3 separate regions of the Homo sapiens genome follow, and regions 1 and 2 are each linked to region 3. The links are contacts of gene promoters, found by promoter capture Hi-C in blood cells and fetal thymus (Javierre and others, 2016). All regions are on one chromosome and are shown on one strand. Each heading gives the region's core, a stretch centred on a gene start or on the middle of the fragment in contact. The rest is flanking DNA. Distances are from core to core; before and after follow the strand shown.

Evidence for each region. Contacts are between HindIII fragments. The CHiCAGO score rates a contact against its expected background, and 5 or more counts as called.
Region 1: a contact is called between the fragment with the promoter of CD2BP2 here and the fragment with the promoter of PRRT2 in region 3, in 1 of 17 cell types (neutrophils). The highest score is 6.7, in neutrophils.
Region 2: the fragment with the promoter of NFATC2IP here is called in contact with the fragment with the promoter of PRRT2 in region 3 in 2 of 17 cell types (total B cells and fetal thymus); the score reaches 6.3 in total B cells.

The regions. Positions count from the first base shown.
Region 1 is chr16:30,353,951-30,357,068 of GRCh38, reverse strand. CD2BP2 (CD2 cytoplasmic tail binding protein 2) reads left to right here and starts at 1,761. Exons shown (of 7, transcript NM_006110.3): 1 at 1,761-1,857; 2 at 2,362-2,465; 3 at 2,747-2,885; 4 at 3,011-3,118. The coding sequence starts at 2,388. It overlaps CD2BP2-DT (CD2BP2 divergent transcript), which reads right to left and starts at 1,635. Exons shown (of 2, transcript NR_184233.1): 1 at 1,449-1,635; 2 at 1-776. RefSeq lists enhancers at 1,590-1,649, 1,730-1,789, 844-1,795, 1,527-1,821, 1,512-2,711 and 1 more. The HindIII fragment of the contact is 7,065 bases long and covers 1-3,118 here.
Region 2 is chr16:28,949,387-28,952,266 of GRCh38, reverse strand. NFATC2IP (nuclear factor of activated T cells 2 interacting protein) reads right to left here and starts at 1,330. Exons shown (of 8, transcript NM_032815.4): 1 at 869-1,330; 2 at 63-135. The coding sequence starts at 1,255. RefSeq lists silencers at 875-994, 1,135-1,234 and enhancers at 954-1,454, 1,474-2,008. The HindIII fragment of the contact is 4,735 bases long and covers 1-2,880 here.
Region 3 is chr16:29,810,680-29,813,468 of GRCh38, reverse strand. It overlaps PRRT2 (proline rich transmembrane protein 2), which reads right to left and starts at 1,276. Exons shown (of 4, transcript NM_145239.3): 1 at 1,146-1,276; 2 at 1-479. The coding sequence starts at 414. It overlaps MAZ (MYC associated zinc finger protein), which reads right to left. Exons shown (of 5, transcript NM_002383.4): 5 at 2,305-2,789. All of the region lies in intron 2 of MVP-DT (MVP divergent transcript), which reads left to right. RefSeq lists silencers at 1,274-1,423, 1,824-1,903. The HindIII fragment of the contact is 10,276 bases long and covers 1-2,789 here.

The DNA.
Region 1 (3,118 bases), core at 512-3,011, 540 kb before region 3:
GGATGGGGTAAGGACGAGGGAGGGAGGGACAGAGCCAGGACCTGGGTCTCTGTTGAAGCAGTCTGCTGTCTTGGCAAGTAGGTACCTCTTAGCTTTGGGTCCATCTCTCAGTCACTCATCAGACACTGGTTGAGCTCCTGCTCCATCTTTGCCTGGGATCTGCTGTCTCCATTGTCACTGGCTGCCTGGAGCTCTCTATGTACCACGTGCAGCACCCGGATCTCCTTCCCAAAGTGCTCATGCAACTCCTGGAAGCTGGAGGGGGTACTCACAGTGGCTAGAAAGCCACTGTCCTCTGGGGATGAGATGGGTTCTTGGCCAGTTGCCTGGCACAGCTCCCAGTATTGGGTTTTGGTGGGGGGGGAGGGGGGACAGCAGCCCAGCCAGCCGCCTCCAGCTCGCGCCAGCCAGTGCCCACAGCCAAGTCTCCAGCTCTTCCTGGGTTTCTGCAGCCAGCTTGTAGGCCCGCCCACCTGTGCCCTCCACCCCAGGGGTCAGGATGGTAAAGGCATAGGGTTCTGCAGCCTTAAGGTGTGGTTCCACCTGGCAGTTCTCTAACAGGATGAGGCTCAGGGGTGCATGGTCGGTCTAGTGTTCTAGGTAGAAGAGGAGGTTTCCTCGGAGGATGAACCATCGGCGCTGGTAGCTGAGGTTTCGGGTCCCCTTCTTTAGCAGAATGCCTTCCTGGTCTGGGGCCTGTGTTCTGTAACCATGGAAGAAACTGAGCACGGACTTTCTGTGCAGTTTTCATCGTGATCCAATATGGGAGGAAACCCCTAGGGAGAGAGAAGTGGCCCATCTAGTTGCCTGGGGGAAGAGTAGGGGAACTCTCATGCTGTCCTCGTCTGGCTTCAGCACGTGCTGCCTGCGCACAGTCTTGGCTTAGGGGGATGCAGGCTCCGAGTGTCAAGAGCTAGGGGTCCCAGCACAGGGGCTGATCCCCGCTACCTCCCCAATTCCCCCTTCTGCTTGGGCCACATTCCGCTACCTGGGCAGGAGTTGCTAGGCCCTGTTTGCTCAGGGGGGCTTCATGCTGCAGAGAGGCACTGTTGCCCTTTTCCAGGCCTACCTGAGAGCAGGGCACAAGGGGCTTCTGGCCTGAGTACTGGCGCCAATGCCACCTCTCCAGTGATGGCTCTCCCACCTCAGAAACCAGGAACTCGCCCAGGGTATGGGCGTGGGACAAATTATTTCCCCTGGGTCCTAAAGGGAGGTGTGTTCAGAAAGTGCCCGGAGAGCCGTCCAGGGGCCCCAGGCTGGCCATCGGGAGAGTCAGGCTTCCCCTCGGAGAGGCAAGGCTGCACCTCTCAGGCTAGGAGGGCTGACCACTGGACCATAGGAATGGGAAGGCAGGATTTCTAACGAGACGGTAGGGGCGCTGAGCCCTTAGCCCTGGGGGAAGGGTGACTTGAACCCAGGACAGGAAAACGGAGCAGCAACCCACTGACCCTGCTCGGACTTTGCCCCTCCATCCTGACCCTGGGCGGCCCTTTAAGCAGATGCGCTCCAGTTTTTCTCCAGAGCCTCTACTGCTTGAATGACGGACTCGAAGCTACTTCCGGCCATTTCTCACGCCCAGTCAGAGTCCAGGAATTCTTAGGTTCCCTCTTCTCACCATTGTCCTCCCACGTGACTGACGTCACTTCTGGCGGGAGAGAGGGTGGAGGCGTCTTCGCTCGCTTATCGCATACTTCCGCCCGCTCTTCCAGTTAGTTCCCTAACCCGAGTGAAGCCACTTCCGGGCTTCCCGGGCGCCTTCCGCAGTCCTCTTCCGGGTGATGGCGGCCGGGTGCCCCGGATGTAGCCCTGGCGCAAGCATCTCTTCTTTTTTCCACCTCGCCTTCCGCGGATTCCCAGGTGAGTGCGCGAGGGTGGGACCGCCCGAATCCCCGTGGCCCTCTAAGTTGTACACAGCCCGGGACAGTTGGGGCTCACCACACGGAATTGGGAGTTCGGAGCAGGGAGGAACGGGGTGGCGAGAGCGCCAGGTCCTGGGTCTGCCGGGGCCCGGCGAGCTCCGAGAGAGCCAGGGTAGAGAGCGGGGGTCAGCCCGTGGAGCCGGTGGCGCGCAGACTGCGGGGGCTGGAGTTGGGGGCGGTCACGTGGTGAAGCCTGTCTCCTTTCAGCCAGGGTCGGGGGATCCAGAGGGTCCGCTCCTCCGTCCCCGCCCCGTTTAACTCGCGGATGCTAGACCCAAGTCCTGGAGGCCTCCTGGCTGCCAGCTTCCTTTCGGCCCCTGCTTTTGTGCTCCCTCCGCTCCCAAACTGTACCTGTCACAGACCAGGAAAAATGTTTGCTGTGCTGCGTCTGTTGGCGAGTCCCCTCCTCACCCGGTTCCCTTCCTCTGCATCCTTTCCTCAGCTTGAGAAACACCTCTTTGCCCCGTCATGCCAAAGAGGAAAGTGACCTTCCAAGGCGTGGGAGATGAGGAGGATGAGGATGAAATCATTGTCCCCAAGAAGAAGGTGAGGGGGCCAGACTGCTTTGTGTGGGGGAAAGAGGAGCTAGAAGCCTGAAGAGGAAGAAAGCTGGCGGGAGAGGGGCGGGGCGGGCAGGCAGAGAAAAGCCTAGTTTTTTCAGGTTCTCTGAGGAATGGGTTGGGAGCGTCTTTAGTGTGGCTCCTGAAATATTTGGGGAAGTAGTCGAGATCCTGAAATATTTGGGGAATATTTGGGTCCAGATCCGGAAGTATTTGGGGAGGTAGCCAGTAACCTGCATTTCTCAACTTTCTGGCTCCTGCTCACAGCTGGTGGACCCTGTGGCTGGGTCAGGGGGTCCTGGGAGCCGCTTTAAAGGCAAACACTCTTTGGATAGCGATGAGGAGGAGGATGATGATGATGGGGGGTCCAGCAAATATGACATCTTGGCCTCAGAGGATGTAGAAGGTAAGCTGTACCCAAGAATACACTCTGCTGGAAAAACAAGTAGGGGCCTCTGGTGGTGTGGAGCGAGGGAGGCTCCGGTCTCTTTTTTCCATGCCTGGAAAAGGGCACCTGTGTCTTTGGTGCAGGTCAGGAGGCAGCCACACTCCCCAGCGAGGGGGGTGTTCGGATCACACCCTTTAACCTGCAGGAGGAGATGGAGGAAGGCCACTTTGATGCCGATGGCAACTACTTCC
Region 2 (2,880 bases), core at 81-2,580, 860 kb after region 3:
CCCAGGAATTCTCTTAAGAGAAGCCAGCGGCTGCGTGCCTCTCCCTGGAGGCCCTCCCTTACCTTCCTCATCCCCTGGAGGGTAGAGTTTCAGGAGGGATAGATCATCTGGGATAAGGCGAAGGCTGCTTTTAACCTGCAAAGACAAAGAAGGGAGAGGGGTCAGGCCCAAGTCCTTCCCCTACCGAAAGAAAAAATTGGGGGTAATTCTTCCCTGACACCCAGCTCCCAAATCCTCCCTAAGATCGTGGACACCTTGGCCCTCTCCTGGCAACCTAGAAGTCCAGCTTCCCCAGGATTCAGAATGGAAGTACCCTTCACCCTTTCCTCCATCTGCCTAAGACACTCTGAAATGTATGCTTCCTTGCCCTTTTTAACTAGGTTACTAGCCGCCCCTCTACCCCTGACTCTTAGGGACTCTCAGCCCATTGCTCACACGACCATCGGGGGACCCCAGCCTCTGGAGCCGCCCAGTCCTCTCTGAACCCGCATGGACCCCAACCCCCAATACTGCAGCTCCCTGGCTTCATTTGCCATGGACCCCAACCTCAAAATCCAACGGCCCCAGGTCCTCCCAGTCCCTCTCCAAAATCTCAGGAATCCCAGCTCTTCAGCCTCCCTGTGCCCCCAAGACTCTAGCTCCTAGGAATCCTAAACTTCCAACGCATCCCACCCTCCTTCACCACCCCAGTCTGCAGAAAGTCCCGGAGCCCTGCCTCTCCCTGCCTCCAACACCCTAACGCCCGAGGACCAGCCCCAGAACGCCAGCCTCAACACCCCTATAGCCCTACCCTCCCCGAACGCCGGCCCCTCCCTGGAGGCCAAGCCCTTGGCCCTTCCGCCGGTCCCCTCCCCGGGACCGGGCGCACCTTCCCCGAGTACACCGGAACCAGCGGCGCCTCCCCCGGATCCAGCACCAGCCGCCGCCGCCGCCTGACCGGCTCCCGCGGGGGTCCTGCGGGCCGCCTGTCCTCCCCTTCGCTGTCACTGTTGCTGTTATCCCGGGACGCGACCGGCCCCGGGGGCTCCGGGGGCTCCACCTCAACCTCGTCCGCGGCACCGCGAGCGGTGGCGACCTCCAGAATTTCCTCATCGCTGTCGGTGACCAAGTCCACAGACACTACGTCCAGCGTGCCCCGGGATGGAGACCGCTGGGCCCGAGGACGCCGGCCCCGACCGCCCCAGCCGCCCCGACCCCCTCGGCCGGCACCGCTACCTCCGGACCAGCGGCCCCGCTTCCCCACAGGCTCCGCCATGGCACACTTTCCTCCACAACACACGCCCGCCTCCTCTCGCCTCGCCCCGCCCCCTTCAGCGACTTTCGCCTTGCATTGGACAAACAGCCTGCTCGTCAGCAACTCTTCGCGCCCCACGCGCGGGATCCGCCTTCCCGCCTTTTCATTGGTCTCTGTACCCGCTCATCATGCGCCCACCTCTGAAACCAAGGCGCCAAAGATTCCAATCACCTCGGCACAATCACCGTAGCTTTCGATTCAGTCGGCCTCACCCATTGGCTGGGCCACCTCTCCACAGACGAGCCTCTCCCGGACCCGCCCAACCAAGACAACCGTCTTCCGGCTTGGTTAGTCGCAGGGCATCCTGGGAAATGTAGTCCTCGAGCGGTAAGGTTTCCGGGAGAAGGAAGGCGGGCCTGGAATTCCCTGTGGAAACCGCGGATTTAACCAGGCGCGGTGCCTCACGCCCGTAATCCTGGCACTTTGAAAGGCTGAGGCGGGCAGATTGGTTGAGCTCAGGAGTTTGAGACCAGCCTGGCCAATGTGGCGAAACCGCGTCTCTACTAAGAATGCAAAAATTACCCGGGCGTGGTGGCACCCCTCTGTGGTCCCAACTACTCAGGAGGCTGAGGTGGGAGTTTCGCTGGAGCCCGGGAGGCGGAGATCGCACCACTGCACCCCAGCCTGGGTGACAGGGCGAGACCCTGTCTCAAAAATGCTTTAAAGAAATAATAAGGCTGGCCGCGCGCGGTGGCTCACGCCTGTAATCCCAGCACTTTGGGAGGCCGAGGCAGGCGAATCACGAGGTCAGAAGTTCAAGACCAGCCTGGCCAACACGGTGAAACCCCGTCTCTACTAAAAATACAAAAATTAGGCGGGCGTGGTGGCGTGCGCCTGTAATCCCAGCTACTCAGGAGGCTGAGGCAGGAGAATTGCTTGAGCCCGGGAGGCAGAGGTTACAGTGAGCCAGATCCTGCCGCTGCACTCCAGCCTGGCCGACAGAGCGAGACTCTCTCTCAAAAAAAGAAAGAAAGATAGAAATAATAAGGCTGGGCGTGGTGGCTCACGCCTATAATCCAGCACTTTGGGAGGCCGAGGTGGGCAGATCACCTGAGGTCAGGAGTTCGAGACCAGCCTGACCAACATGGTAAAACCCTGTCTCTACTAAAATACAAAAATTAGACAGGCGTAGTGGCAGGCGCCTATAATCTCAGCTACTCGGGAGGCTGAGGCAGGAGAATCGCTGGAACCCAGGAGGCAGAGGTTGCACTGAGCCAAGATTGTACCACTGCACTCCAGCCTGGGCAACAGAGTGAGACTCCATCTCAAAAAAAAATCTTATGTATTTATTTATTTTTAAATTTTATTTTATTCATTTATTTAATTTTATTTATTTATTTATTTTGAGATGGAGTTTCGCTCTTATTGCCCAGGCTGGAGTGCAATGGCTCGATCTCGGTTCACTGCAACCTCTGCCTCCCAGATTCAAGCAATTCTCGTGCCTCAGTCTCCAAGTAGCTGGGATTGATTACAGGCGTGCACTACCATGCCCAGCTAATTTTGTATTTTTAGTGGAGATGGGGTCTCACCATGTTGGTCAGGCTGGTCTTGAACTCCTGACCTCAGGTGATCCACCCCCCTCCGCC
Region 3 (2,789 bases), core at 27-2,526:
AGGCTCTGGGGCTGGTTCAGGTGGGGCTGCAGACTCCAGCCTGGACCCCTGGTCTGCAGTGGCCTCTTTGCTCACTTCTGGTTTGGACACTGTTTCTTGGCATGGGTCTTCGGGGCTGCAGTTGGCCTTTGATTCCCCTCCTGGGCTTAAGCTGAGGTCTGTGGCCTGGGCTGTTTCTGAGGCCCCAGCCGGGGTCTCTGTGGTTTCTGGAGCCAGCCCAGCCTTGGGCCCTGAGTCCACAGGGGCCGCAGTGGTGTTTGGACCTGGCTGCGGGGCCTCTGGCTGGTCTGGTACCCCTGCTAGGACCTGGGGAGGGCCAGTTTCAGCTTCAGAATGGCCAGGCCCTTCGCCTGGAACCTTGGGACTCTCCTCAACCCCCTTCATCTCAGAGATCTCAGAGCTGCTGGCTGCCATCTTGAGATGGGAGAGGGGAGAGAGCCCCTATGGGGAGGATGGAATAGCAGAGACAGCGGCAAACCCTGGAAGAGGAGGAGATAGGCTTGGGGTGAGGAGGGAAGAGGGCGCTCAGCACTGCAGGCCCAATTGGGCCACATTCCTGTCTCAGGGCCAGCCTTGCACTGCCTCTAGGGAGAGGAAGAAAAGTTGGGGTTTCCTTTGCCTTAGGGTGGGACATCCCTGCGGGAGGAGTGCTCTACTCAAAGTCTTCTGCTTGGAGAGCCCTGGGGAAGATTAACCCTTTTGTAAACAGGACCTTCTCCAGGGTCTCTCCCTGGGTCCATCCAACAAGATCCAGACTCTCAGATCCCAGCACCCCAAAATCAACGAGCTGTGCAAATAGCACTCCGACAGGCCGACTGGGCAGAGGACCCGACATTCGCATTCCACTCCCTCTGCATCCTCCCCTCCTCCCTGGGCTCCCAGGCGGTGCGGGTTTTCTTGCTGCGCGTTTAGGGCGAGGACGCTCCCGCCCCTTTCTGGGGGACCTGGTTATCTCCTTCGATCCCCTGTCAGCCCCTCTCCCGGGGCTTCCCTCGCCTTCGGTGGGCTGGCGCCTCCTCCCGATGGTTCAGCCCGCCCAGCACCACCACCAGCCCTCCAGACACCCGCATTCCCGTGCAGTCCGCCCGGCGTCAGCCGTCGGTCGGTCCACTCCTACCCGCAGCCTCAGTCTGCCCGGGTCTCACCTCGACGCCGGCCTCCGGACAGCTCCCGCTGCCGCTGCTGGCTTTTGCAGCAGCCGCAGCCCGGGAGGGAGCAAGTCAGCTAGGGAGGGAGGGAGGCGGCGGGTCTCCCTCTTCTCCTCTCCCGTGTGCTCATCCCCTCCTCTCCGGTCCCCTCCCCTACGCTCCGCCGCCGTCGCCGCCCCCGCCCCTCGCGAGCCTCCGGCCCCTCCCGCCAGCCCAAGGGAGCCACGCGTTACCCAGGCAACCGGCCCGGGGACCACTCGCGCCCCCTCCCTGCCCCTTCTCACGCGCGCCTCCAGGAGAGACGCCTCCTTCTTAAGTCCCCGGCCCCTCCCGCCAACGGTCACCGGGATTCCTGGAAGAGACGGGGATTTGGGGGAAACGGAGAGGGTTCTGCGAGGAGACGGGACCAGTGAGACAGGCAGGACCGGGTGGAGGCGTCTCTACGAGCAGGAGGGCAAGGAAGATGGGGCAAGACGCGGGGAGGCTGCAGAGGAGGAGCAGGGTGGGGTTTGGAGAGAATGGAGCCTGCAGAAAGGAGCGGCAGAAACTGGCGCTGGAAGGCTCAAAAAAGGGGCCCTGGAAAGGACGGAGCGGGGACAGGAAAGGGAATTCCAAGGGGCAGGAGGAGCTGGGCAGAGGAGCCCGTGTAAACACAGAGTGGCCCATGCCCAGGATGAGGGACAGGTGCAGCTTTCATTCTCTACCTCGCTGCTCCCAGTCCTAGGGCTCGGACTCCCCAGCCTTTCCGCAGCCGCATCCACCCACCATGGCCTCAGGGCCGTGACGCGCGTGGGGAGGGATGCGGCTGGGGGCTGAGCAGCGGCCATGAGTGTGGACGGGGGAGGGCGGCATTCCCGTCTGGCAGCTCTGTTTGGGTTTCTGACGGGGCCTCTTCAAACCTCCAGGGGCTATTCTGGGCCTGTCCGAGTTGGGAATTCCCCAGAGACCTGGAACTTGCTCTCCACAGCCACAGCCTTGGCCCCGCCCTGTATCTGTGCTGCCGCCAGTAAGGCTGCCCCTGGGGAGGGCGGAGCCAGAACCTCACAGCCTCACAGGGCAGAGCAAGGCTGGATTGACGGACACCAGGCCGAGAAGAAACCCTTGGGGTTGGCGGCAGTTCTTAGTGAGGGCAATTCATTCAATCCAGAGCCAGAAACAGGATTTTATTTAAAATTTATTGTAATGGGGTCCGCGCAAAAGGAAGGGGTGGAGGGTGGGGTACATGCAGGGGACACAGGAACACGATGACATGGCCAGGGCCACAACTTCTTCTGTCGTGGGGAAGAGGGATGAAAAGACAAGACCAGGGCTGGAGCTGGGGTGGAAGAGGGGAGGGGGACACTGGCTGCATTCCCCCGCCCCCAGGAAGCACCTCTAGGCCCTGGACCCCTCGCTCACCCTGGCCCCTAAGACTCCATCTCTTCTCTGCCTCTGGCCCTCCTGGCTCTTCCTCCTGCTCCCCTTGACTTTTTCCCCTGACAGATTCTCAAGTAGGACGATGTTCAGGGCCTGACCCCAACCCCCCATACCACCTTATGAAGGTACAACCTTTGCCGGCCCTGCTTCTGCCCCTCCTCAAACCTCACCGCTTTCCCTCTTTGGGACAGCTCTGATCCCCCTCCTTCCTCTCCTCCCTCCCCC